Regions from separate parts of the Homo sapiens genome. Here region 2 is linked to region 1. The links are contacts of gene promoters, found by promoter capture Hi-C in blood cells and fetal thymus (Javierre and others, 2016). All regions are on one chromosome and are shown on one strand. Each heading gives the region's core, a stretch centred on a gene start or on the middle of the fragment in contact. The rest is flanking DNA. Distances are from core to core; before and after follow the strand shown.

The links. Contacts are between HindIII fragments. The CHiCAGO score rates a contact against its expected background, and 5 or more counts as called.
Region 2: a fragment that was not itself captured here is called in contact with the fragment with the promoter of PRR20A in region 1 in 4 of 17 cell types (fetal thymus, total B cells, M2 macrophages and 1 more); the score reaches 9.1 in fetal thymus.

The regions. Positions count from the first base shown.
Region 1 is chr13:57,137,409-57,143,636 of GRCh38, forward strand. PRR20A (proline rich 20A) reads left to right here and starts at 3,510. Exons shown (of 3, transcript NM_198441.2): 1 at 3,510-3,723; 2 at 3,878-3,948; 3 at 4,970-6,228. The coding sequence starts at 3,897. The coding sequence ends at 5,583. LOC124903235 (a long non-coding RNA gene) reads right to left here and starts at 330. Exons shown (of 2, transcript XR_007063920.1): 1 at 263-330. The HindIII fragment of the contact is 41,430 bases long and covers 1-6,228 here.
Region 2 is chr13:57,213,453-57,219,680 of GRCh38, forward strand. LOC105370216 (a long non-coding RNA gene) reads right to left here and starts at 3,278. Exons shown (of 2, transcript XR_941982.1): 1 at 3,179-3,278. The HindIII fragment of the contact is 2,467 bases long and covers 1,695-4,161 here.

The sequences.
Region 1 (6,228 bases), core at 2,260-4,759:
ACAAATTTTTGTAGTATAACATTTTCACATTCTTATCAGAAACAATGCTAGTTAGTTGCATTTTAAAATCTTGTTAAACAGTTACAATCATTTAAATGCATTTACCTGAGTAAATATATCTAACAGCTAATGCCTATTCAAGCAAATATATCTCAATAAAAGTGTCTGTAATTCTATTTATTTGTACATTTATTTTATCTCTTCTGTGTTTTTGTAACGAAGCCTGTATTTCATAAAAATCACAAGACTTTGTTTTACTTACTTTCTTTCTCTTCGTTCTTTTCTTTCTCCATGCATGCTTGCTTGCATGTAGTAGTTTCAGTAGGGAGTAGTCACTAGCAATTGATTAACTTCACATCCCAACCTCCAAGCACAGCCCATAGGATTCATAAACTTGTTTGTCTTTCAAAGAACAATGAACCTTAGACCATGCAGACCTCTTTGATGGCAACTAGAAGTCGGATCAGGCCAAAGGACGCAAACAGCTTTGATTATAAGGGCATCTCACCCCTCACATACATACCTTACTCATAAAATCCACCAAATATGTTCAAAGACAGGTAGGATTTGAGAGATTTCTCTCTCCTGCCCTCTTGTTTTGGCCAAATTGAATAAAACTCTCTCTGCTCCTAGGAGCTGAGGTGTCAGTTTTTGGTTTACTATGTATCAGGAACATTAACCTAAATTGGGGGATTCTACAACATTTTGAACCAAGTATATGTGTTTCCCAAAATTGTTTATTACTTCATAATTTTTCTATTCAGACAGTGATGATTGCTAAAAACTAAGGTGTCCCCAAGTGCAACATTGTTTCTAGATCATAAACCCAATGTGAAGCAGAATAGTATGTGTTTTGCTCAATATTTTACCCCTAGTCCCTAGACACTGCTTAGCCTGTAGTCATTAAAGGGACATCAGTGGAAGGACACCAACAACAACAACAACAAAAAAAAAAAAAAAAAAAAAAAAGAGGAAGAAGAAGAAGGAGGAAAGAAGGAAAGCAGAAAGGTGAGGATGAGCCAGGTTAGATATTGGGTTGTCAGTCAATTAATACAATCATGTCTAACACTTCTAAAAACACAGAAAGAAAATTTACAAGTCTCAACATTAGGTACTATTGCTCATTTTCTCTTTGACCTGCATGAAATTAAGAACTTGTTAAAATTCTTGGGATCTTAATTCAGACACAAAATATATAGATTTATCAAGTATATATGAAATACCGTATAGTCTTCCATGCCATCTTCACTACCCCATCCACCTTATCCATCATGTCTTCCACCTCCCAACTCTGTGTGTGCCCTTGCATCCCCTGAATTAAGAACGTGCTATCTCTGGAGGGATATTCACAGGATAGAGGATTCCTTCCAAGCAGGAAACTGAATGTTGCATGAGGAACACTTCTCGCCACTGATACAAAAGTTGAAGGATTGTGGGATGGGTGGAGCAGGGGTGAGGGAATTTTTTTCTTTAATTTTTGTTTAAATTATGCTTTAAGTTCTGGGATACATGTGCAGAACGTGCAGCTTTGTTACATAGGTATAAAGGTGCCATGATGTTTTGCTGCACCCATTAACCCATCATCTACATTAGGTATTTCTCCTAATAGTCTCCCTCCCCTAGATTCCCAGTCCCTCACAGACCCCAGTGTGTGATATTCCCCTCCCTGTGTCTATGTATTCACATTGTTCGACGCCCACTTATGAGTGAGCACATGTGATATTTGGTTTTCTTTTCCTGTGTTAGTTTGCTGAGATGGGAGGTTGACAAAGGGACACGGAAGCCAACTAAAGGAGCTCCCGGTGGCCAAAGCTGGAAACATTGAGTAACAAAGTAATTACCTAAATAATTAATAATTAAATAGTTAAGTAAAATACTTGACAAAATAATTAGTTCAATTATTAAATAATTCATCCCCTGAAGTACTGGAGTGTAAACCAAAGCATACAATAGGTGTCCATAAGTCCATACGGATATAAATAAGTGATTAAATAAACAAACATGTGGGGGAGAATGGGAAAATCCTCCACACAGGAGAACTCCACAGAACTTAGGTAGCTATTCCCCTGCAAGGAGATAAAGCAAAACTTCCCTTTTCTTTACGTATAGGCTACAGGTAGCGACTTCCAGAAAGCACAGTAGAGAAAGAGGTGGGAAAATCACTTTATGGTGGAGAAACCTAATCAACACTGCCCCAGCCCGGTGACCAGGACTAATAGCAGCAGTGATAAGCCGGCTTGATGGTGTGTACTCTAGACAGGATGGGATGGGAATGGCGCTTTCCCGCTGCAATCTTCCTGACAAAAACATATAATTCCAGTCAGATCACAAGGAATACATCACACGAACTTCAGGAGAGGACATCCCACAATATATCTGATCAGTATTCAAAGTGTCAGAGTCATCAAAAACAAGGCAAGTGTGAGAAACCGTCGCAGCCAAGGGGAACCGTGACGAGTTGTAAGGTGGTACCCTGGATGGGGTCTTGGGACAGAAAAGGTATGTGAGGTGAAAGCATAGCAAAACCTCACTTCAACAGGAAATACAACCCAAAAAAGTAATTGGCCCGGCATGGTGGCTTGCGCCTGGGGTCCCAGCGACTCGGGAGGTTGAGCGGGACGGACGGCTTGAGCTCAGGCCTTCCAAACAAGCCTGGGCACATAGCGAAAACTCGTCTCTCCAAAAAAATCCGAAAATTATCCCGATGTGGTGGCGCTCACCTGTAGTCCAGCTACTCCGGAGGCCGAGACAGGAGAATCACTTGAACTGATTCTCCTATCTCAGCCACCCCCCCCCAACCCCCCCAAGTAGCCGCAGCGAGCCGAGATGGCACCGCTGCACTCCAGCCTGGGCTACAGAGCGAGAACCAGTCTCTGTAAAAAACACAAGGATGCAAACCAACCAAATAACCCACTGTGGGATCCCCTCCAGCGTCCTGCTGTGTTTCCCGCTGTCTTCCTCCACCCGTGAGTGCACCCACAGCAATAAAAGCCAGCGGTGTGGGTCTCACACGCATCTCCAGCCCCGTCTCACACGCACCACCTCCGGGCCTGGACTTGGCCTCCCGTCCATTCCCAGAATGTGCCGGGCTCCCTTCCAGTCCGGGCCTCAGCACACTCTCTTCACTCCCCTTCCTCCCTCCCTGCCTCTCCCAACCCGGTTCAGGATGACTAATTTCAAACGTTATGTTCCAGATTTCAGCCCAGATATCCCCGCTTTGGATGCTTTCCTTGACCATGCTCAGATCTAAGCTAATCGCATCTTCCTGTCAGCCGCTTTCAGGGCACCACACCTCATTGTGCTGACACTCAGAGGTCATTATGCAATTTTTTTTCCTCGATGATTAGATTAATCAATCAACCACGGACGTCTAGAAATGGCGGCATCTCAGAAGGGCCCCCATTTGACTGGCAGGGGACTGGCCCAATGCGCCTCGCAAGCCCAGCCAGGCCCGCCCCAGCCGGCCCCCCTCTGACGACGCCTGTCCCTTACGCGACTGCCTTGCTGCCATATAAGAGGGACGGCGCTCGGCCTCCAGCAGTCGGCTTTCTGCTGGGCTCGGAGCCAGAACCTGCTGCGTGCTCCCTCCAGACTCCCTGGCTGCGGGTGGACTACCTCAGAGCTACAGCGGTGAACCTGTGGACACCTCCGACTCCTCGGGCCTCTCTTCGTCGAAGAGTCTCCTAATTTTCAGATCTCCGGAGCCAGCTGTGGGAAGATCAGGTGTGTGTCTGGGGGTCCCGGAGGCGTGGACGGATCTCGGGTGGGTGCAGTTGGGGACAGAATCCTCATTCCCCTAGAAAGGCCACGGCCATCCCCCTGCCTTGTCACCTCTGTCTTCCTAAATCCGTTCTTGCTCTCTTGTTTTTCTCCCCAGCCCCTCCCGCCGATTGCTCATGGAGGAACCAAGGCCTTCGAAGCGACTTCGCTCCATGGCCCCTAATCAAGGTACATCAAACGCCTGCCACTCCTCTCTTTTTAATTTCGTCTGTTCCCCAATTCTTCCCCAATGGTTGACACTCAAACTCAATCAAGCATTCTCTGTTTCACCTTCTCCTAGCCTGCCTCAACCTGGGCTGCTTGTTGGAAGTCAGCTCCCGGGTTCCACATCATCTGGGAAATTCCTTTCCCTCTTCCGAACCGTAATCCCATTTCCCAAATCTGAGATTTGCTGTTGTTGTCGCTGTTTCCTTCTGTTTAGTTTTGTATTACTGTTTCTCCGTAGCAGAGCGAGTCCTCACGCTACGTCTTGATCTATGATAAACCGGTACTTCCACCTTGTTCTTTCCCGGAGGAGTTGGAATTTTCCGGCTGTTGCCACGTTGTTCTCCAAAACTTTTCCCTTCATACGCTGAGTGTCCTAAATCTTTTAATCTTGTCTAGTTTGACAGATGCATAACAATAAAGCATCCACTGAAAGGAAATTCTTTAACATCTTGCTTGTCTGAAACATCTTCATTCTCCCCTCCCAGATTCTTCAGCGAAACTTCGGTTGGACAGGAAATTTTAGGTGGGAAATTCATTTCCCTTGAAATTTCGAAGACATTTTCTGTTATGTTCTAGACTGAACTGCTGCTTTTGAGATGTCTGACTTTTGAGACATGTGGAATCCTAGCCCTTTCCATGTGACTTTTCCTTTCTCTGTCTCCCGCTCTCTAGAATCTGTTAGAATCTTCTCTTTTTCCTCAGCACTCTGAAATTTTCTGGTGAAATGTCTCAGCCACAGCATACCTCTAATTCTCTTATATTTCATCCTTCTTTCCATCATTTTAGGTTTTTGCTTTGTTCTGTGGGAGACCTTCTCAACTTCATTCTCCAACTTCCGTGGAGAGTTTTGTTTCTTCTCTCACAATTTTAACTTCAGAAATCCCTCTTTTCTCTGAGTATTTATTTGTAAAAGTATCCTATAACTGCTTGACGGGTGAAGTTCCTTCTGTCTCTCTCTGCTCACGCTCCGCTTCTCTTTTAGCCTCAGGTGGGCCTCCTCCAGAGCCAGGCTGCTGTGTTGCGGACCCTGAAGGCTCCGTGGAAGCAGATGGGCCCGCACAGCCAGCCCAACCCGCAAAACCCATCGCTTACGTGAAACCCTTCAGACGGCAGCCCCCAGCTCGCCCAGAGTCACCCCCTCCTGCAGAGAGAGGCCGGCGCCGGGGAGGAAGCCGGCGGCCAGGGCGAGGCCGTGGCAGAAGGGCTGGGCCCCGCGGGGACGCTGGCCAGAGACAGGGGGCAGAAGGCTTGATGGCACCGGACGTGCACATCCAACTGGACCACCATGGAGAGCCAGGCCACCAGGGGGAACCGGAAATCACGGAGACCGCAGCCTTCTCCCTTTCTGAAACAGGTCCTCCGCCTGGAACTGTGCAGGAAGGCCCTGGCCCCGACGTGGCGCAACCTGAGCTGGGGTTTCAGGAGCCGCCCGCTGCTCCTGGGCCTCAGGCTGTTGACTGGCAACCCGTCTTGACCCTCTATCCCTGCATCGGGTTTAGGGCTCTGGGTGACTCAGCGGTTTTACAAGTCATTCAAACCCCCCAGGGCACCTACGTGCAAGGGGTCCCAGTGTTCCTCACCGACATTGCGTATTGACCACTATCTGCCACCCACGTTGTTCCCAGCCTCCCTTCCTTCCACCTGGACGTTCCCCCCAGCCCCACTTCTGCTCCACTCCTCCCCCGACTGGACCTGAAGCCTGAGCTTCCCCTGAACTTGGAGTACGCAACTTACAACATGCAAGCTGCCAAACACCCTTTCTGTACAAGGCGATTGGAATGGAACTGTCATGTACAGTGAAAGTACACGTCACGTTTTTCAGCCAAGAAGAAGCCAACCCAGACAACCTGGAAGAAGTGGGATGCAACAAGGATCACTAAGCATGGAAATTAGGAAACTGTATTCTTAAGTCCAGAGAAGTACGATTCTGGAAAAAGGATTGATGACCTAGAATTAAAATTCCAGAAGACACTCATATAGACATGTGGGACATGCGAAAACTCAGAAGGAGCTAGAAGTTACTAAAGTGCTTCTCTAGTGCCTGGAGACGATAGACTGGCTGAATATAAGAGCAATAAAAATCTAGACTGACACATTTTTAAGTCTCAACGTGGGTACCCTTTGGGAACCACTAAATGAATTGGAATAGAAGGTAAAATTTCAAACAGATTGAGGAAAAAGGGGATCAAAGGACATGTGACGAATCAGACAAAAGGTGTTGGGGTGGGGGGGGGGGCGGTT
Region 2 (6,228 bases), core at 1,678-4,177, 75 kb after region 1:
TTTTTAATATTTTTATAAATGTTTTCAAATATAATTATCTTAAATAATCCAGACAGTTTACAATTCATATAGCTCATATAAATGCCAACATTAACAGTTTTAAGCAGTTTGTGGGAAAATGATCAGCCAAACTACATATTCAAAGTCACCTTCTGCAAAGTTTCCATTTACTATGACTTTTTACATTCATCAATTATTGATGAATGGGTATATACCTGAAGGAATTGAAATCAGCTTGTTGAAGAGATGTCTGCACTCCTATGTTCATTGCAGAATTATTCACAATAGCCAAAATATGGAAAAACCTAATGTGTATATATACACATTCCAATGTATATGAAACTGTGGCATATATACAGAATATTCAGCCTTAAAAAACTGAAAATTCTGTCATTTGAAACAACATAGGTCAACCTAGAGGATATTATGTTGAGTGAAACTGTATAAAACTGTTAATGTTGGCATTTATATGAGGTATATGAATTCTGAACTATATGGATTATTTATGATAATTAAATAATAAGAGAGACAAATACTATATGATTTCATTATATGTGTAATTTAAAAATTCAAACTCATAGAAGTGGAGAGTAGAATGATGGTTACCAGAGGCTGGGGGCAGGATGTGGACAGGGAAAGGGGAGAAACTGGTCAACAGGTGGAAAGTTTCAGTGAGATTGGAGGAGTAAGTTCTGGTGTTCTATTGCACAGCATGGTCATGAGAGTTGATGATAATCTATTTTATATTTCAAAATAGCTAAAAGGAAGAATTTTGAATCTACTCATCACAAAGAAATGATAAATAGCTGAGGTGATGAATATGGTAATTGGTCTGATTTGATTATTTCACAATGTATAAATGTATTGAAGCCTTCACATCATATCCATTAAATATATACAATCATTATTCATCAATTAAAAATAAAGCTAAAATAGAGACAAATAATAATCGATGTAAACCTAAATAGTCTGCAACTTAGAGTAGCTCCTTTATTTGGTCAAACATATGAAACTTGTGTCCAAGAAAAGGAAAAATAAATAAATAAAAACCTGGTCATATGACATAAAATACAGTATTTGGAAATGGCTCACACTCCCAATGGCCAATAGCACACACATTCCATTAAAGCAAGTTGCATAGTAAAGGCTTATATCAGTGGGACAGGACAGAACCCAGAAGAGAAAGAAAAAACATATTTTGACTAATAAAATCTAAAACAACACGTGTAGATAAAAATATAGCTATATTTTAACACCCATGTCAATATCTTAATTAAGCCAATCCTCATCCTCAATTGTAGATGGGTTTGTTAGAATTTGGTATGGAATTGTAATAGATTCTGATTTAATAAACTGGTTAGCTCTCCAGTGTTTAATGTTTAATGGCTTATATACTTAAATGACATACTGTTTATTGATAATGAAAAATATAGGAAAGCTCCTAAAAATCCTAATTAAAAATTTCACTGAATTATAAGTATTTATGAATCTTAAATGCTGATTTGAGAAAACATATATAAATATTATTATGAACCCTGGAACATAAACACACAATTTTAAGGGTAATCTGAATTAAATTTTTAAAATATCAGTGTCTTTGATGAACATTGGCTGCATTGGTTTTTTACCAGTAATAATTTCACAGCAATACCAATGACTTAAATCACATATTAATTGATCATTAATTTATCTTAAGCTTCTCTTAAATTACCATTCAGGATTGTGGTATATTTTAATTCTTAAGGTAAATATGTGCTAAAACTGAAAAAGTTTCCAGTGAAAAGAAAGCAGATAAAAATTACATGCAGAACACCAAAGGTATTAGAAAATAAAATTAAAGAAAAGGAGGGAAAGCAAAACATGAAAAATACTTTGGTAGATATAATAATATGATTTTTAAGAGCTGTCGAAGACAGAACAAAAGGAAAGTAATATGACACACAACTGATACCTGCACGAGAAGTAAATACTACAGAAAAACTAGTGGAGATAATTCATATATCTGGCAACATATCCATCTTTGGTCAGGAAGACTGATTTGTTACCTAGATTGTGAGTGATGAGAATCAGGAAAACTTAAAAGTTTTTCTTTTTTTTTTTTTTTTGGAGTATATACAACATATGTGCAAGTCTTTTGTGACTAAAATGAGATAATATGTTCTAGTTGAGCAATAAAATAGGAATAATTTTTTAAAACGTATTCAGATTTTATATTCTTGGTGTGGTGCAAGGGTGAGTGGGGAGACAAGAAGTTCAAAGTTGCAAAAGTCTAATATGGTAGAATATGCAAGAAAGAAGTATTACAAGGAACATGCAGAAGAAAGGCAAGCATGGTTTGAACAAATGAATTAGTGAATAATAAGAAAGAATTTAGTTCCAATAGTCTTATTTTTGTTTGTTTTAGTACTGATGGAATTTAATTTGACTGGCTATGCAGAGCTACAAAGGTTCTATGTTCCCAACTCAGGTCATTCATTTTGATTATCGATTATTATACTCAAGGTAAATGGATTTATATGTGAACTTCAAAGAAATAGTAAGTAGGCAACCAAGAGTGTGCTGAAATCACTTAAAGTTTAGAGAAAATAACTTTTGGGTGAAAAGTGTTTTACATAGATGATGAGATCAGGTAGGATTTTTTAAAATTATTGTTCTATTTTCATTGCTTGTTTTACCTTTAAGTTTTACCTGAAAGTATGGATATTGTTTTTAAAGTACCAAGCAATAAAAATAATGTTATATAAGAAATTTTAACATGAGATGTGAGGTGGTATTAGAATTTTTACACAGAGTTGAAATTATGCCCAAATGTTACCCTCTACTAAATGTAAACACAATATTGTATTATGATAAAACAAAAATAATTTACGATTATACAGTGAAGATGATATTTCTGTTGTATATATATTACATTTCTTCAAATTTTACTTCCTTTTTATGTTCTATTTTTCTTTAACACTATGATAGGTTGAATTACATGTGTATATTTATATATACACACACTCTCGAAGTTGTTTACAGTTTTATCTTGGCTATAATAAATGAAACACCACATATTCTGTCTATGCAAGTTGCCTATACTTCCTGCTGCATTTTCTGGAAGTGCTAAGAGAGCAAAATATCAACTGCAATAGTGGCACCCTCCTTAGATATATTGCAGTCTTTGCACATCACCTACCTTATGAGTTGGTGTTAGAATACAAACTGTACGGCCGGGCGCGGTGGCTCAGGCCTGTAATCCCAGCTCTTTGGGAGGCGCAGGCAGGCGGATCACGAGGTCAAGAGATGGACACCATCCTGGCTAACATGGTGAAACCCCGCCCCTGCTAAAAAAAGAAATATATACACAAAAATTAGCTGGGTGTGGTGGCGCGCGCTGGTGGTCCCAATTACTGAGGAGGCTGTGGCAGGACAATGGGTTGAACCTGGGAGGCGGAGTGAGCCAAGATCGCTCCACTGCACTCCAGCCTGGTGACACAGCGAGACTCCGTCAAAAAAAAAAAAAAAAAAATTCTACCGTTATAAAAGGCACCCATATGGAATGACGGTTAAATAGAATCATATCAACCTCATCCTTCTGTTTGAGGCTGAATTGCTTCTCCCCAAAATTCATATGTTGAGGTCGTAACCTCCAGTGCCTCAGAGTGTGGCCATGTTTGGAGACGGTGTCTTTGAAGGAGTGCTTAAGTTAAAATGAGGTCTTTAGGGTGGGTCCCAGTCCAATGCCACTGGTGCCCTTATAGAAACAGGAAATTTGGATACACAGAGAGACAGCAGGCACACGTGCAGAAACAGAGATGACCATGTGAAGAGACAGTGAGAAGATGGCCATCTGCAAGCCAAGTAAAGAAGAAACAAAACACCAACAGCCCTGCCAACACCTTGATCTCATATTTTCAGACTCCAGAATTATGATAAATTAAACACATTGTTTAATCCACATAATCTTCAGTATTTTGTTAAGCCAGCCCTAGAAAATTAATACACTGCCTGTTTAGACTGTGAATATACATCATGAGAAACCCATTGCTTTGAGTCTTTTGATTTCTATGATTTTTTTATTGTTATAAACAACACTTATCAGCATTTAACCTTCACTGAAATAACCAGTTCGGAAACAAAAAACATTAAGAAGTTATTTTCTGTGTATGAGTATCATGAAGCTTTAAAGAGCCTCTATATAGATGCCGCTATAGCTGAGGGAATTTATTAGGGACATAGCAATCGGCCCGTTTATCCTTTATCATCTCAGACTGGCAAAATTAGTTCATTTTTCCTCAAAGTTATGCCAACCCCAGTCCCTGACAGAAGAACCATCCCTTCAATCCAACCTAAAATATTTTTTCTAAACATTTCTCAGTCCAATCCAATCCTCCATCTTTCACTGCTTTCTTCATACCTTTCACTACTTTATTATTATTATAGTAAACTTTTCTATATGTCTAGATCTATAATATTTTAAATTACATTTTCTTTCTTTGCTTTTACGGAAAACAGCTGTCAATTGGGCAATACTTCTCCTATAACCCCATCAGTCTGAAACTATTTCTGTTGTTTCATATACCAGTGTTTGGGCGGTAAAGTGGTATACTACAGTTCCCACATATGGATCATTAGTGTCCTAAAAGACACGACCACAATCAACCACAGAAACCATCAGATCAAAATTTCTTTTTTACTGTGCATTACTCAGGGCTAAACTATTCTCATCCCTTCTTAACTGCCTTCACCCATTTACTTCTCAATCACTCCCCTGACATCCACTGAGGAATTCAATTACTTGTGTATCATTTTTCTCCTCTCCATATTTTATCATTTACAGTTACATCAAAATTTAATGGCTAAAATTTTATCAGTTAAAACTCTCATTTATACTGGCCTTCTTTTAGTTTCTTGAACCAGCCAAGCTTTTTAAATTCTGAACTCATACCTTTTCCTAAAATGCTCTTAGTCATCTTTCTATGCATAAATTTCTCAGTACTAGGTCCAGCTTTGGAAATACAGATTCTATATTATGTCTTTTCTTGGTCTAAGTATGTCTTTCAGAAAGAGAAAGAAAGATCCAAAGAAGGAAGAATAGAATGAAATGGAACAAGGAAAAAGAAAGATTAGAATACATGTGAAACCTCTACAATTTTTACCATATAGAGCAGGAAAGAAACATAATCTAAACCATATTTTTCCATCATACTCTTAATAAACACACCTCTGCATGTTATTTTGAAGTTCTATGTCTTTACTCTCCAGATTTTTTAAAAAAGTAAACCACTTTGGCCATGTACCAGATAAAATGTATTTTAAAAACTTTACGGAACTATGGCCTCAAGAAAAAAAAAATATGTTAGCTACTGAAGTACATAATTTTGAAAAATTGCAAAATGTGCGTAATGGACACAGAATAGAGTGATGTCACCAAAAATTGGTGTCTGCTACTTTTTAGTCAGAAGACAAAGTTTAAGGGGAAGAATATATCCGAAATTCATTGAAGTAACAGGGCAAGGATAACATCATGAACCATTTCCAAAGAATTAAAAGACCAATTTTCATTTTTTGTTATGAAAATATTGCATGTTATGCTTCATAATTAAGTCACATGTGAGGCCATACCAGGAGTCAAAGATAATTCAGGAAGTTGATTAGAAAATGTACCTTTCAGCCATCTTGCTTTCAGCTTATCTGAACCTGACACTTGCAGCCGTTTGCCACGCATATTGAGGCAGTGAAATGATTTTTATTAAAAGGCAGTTAGTGTTGTCAGTTTGTTTCCAAAACTTGGTCTTGGCTAAAAGAAACATTCCTTCCAAATATCCACTACCCAATTCCATAGGGTTTGTGTTTGCTCTGTTTGAGTATTCAGTTGCCAGTTTTCTTTTTTTTTTTTTTTTTTTTATTATACTCTAAGTTTTAGGGTACATGTGCACATTGTGCAGGTTAGTTACATATGTATACATGTGCCATGCTGGTGCGCTGCACCCACTAATGTGTCATCTAGCATTAGGTATATCTCCCAATGCTATCCCTCCCCCGTCCCCCGACCCCACCACAGTCCCCAGAGTGTGATATTCCCCTTCCTGTGTCCATGTGATCTCATTGTTCAATTCCCACCTATGAGTGAGAATATGCGGTGCTTGGTTTTTTGTTCTTGCGATAGTTTACTGAGAATGATGGTTTCCAATTTAATCCATGTCCCTACAAAGGATATGAACTCATCATTTTTTATGGCTGCAT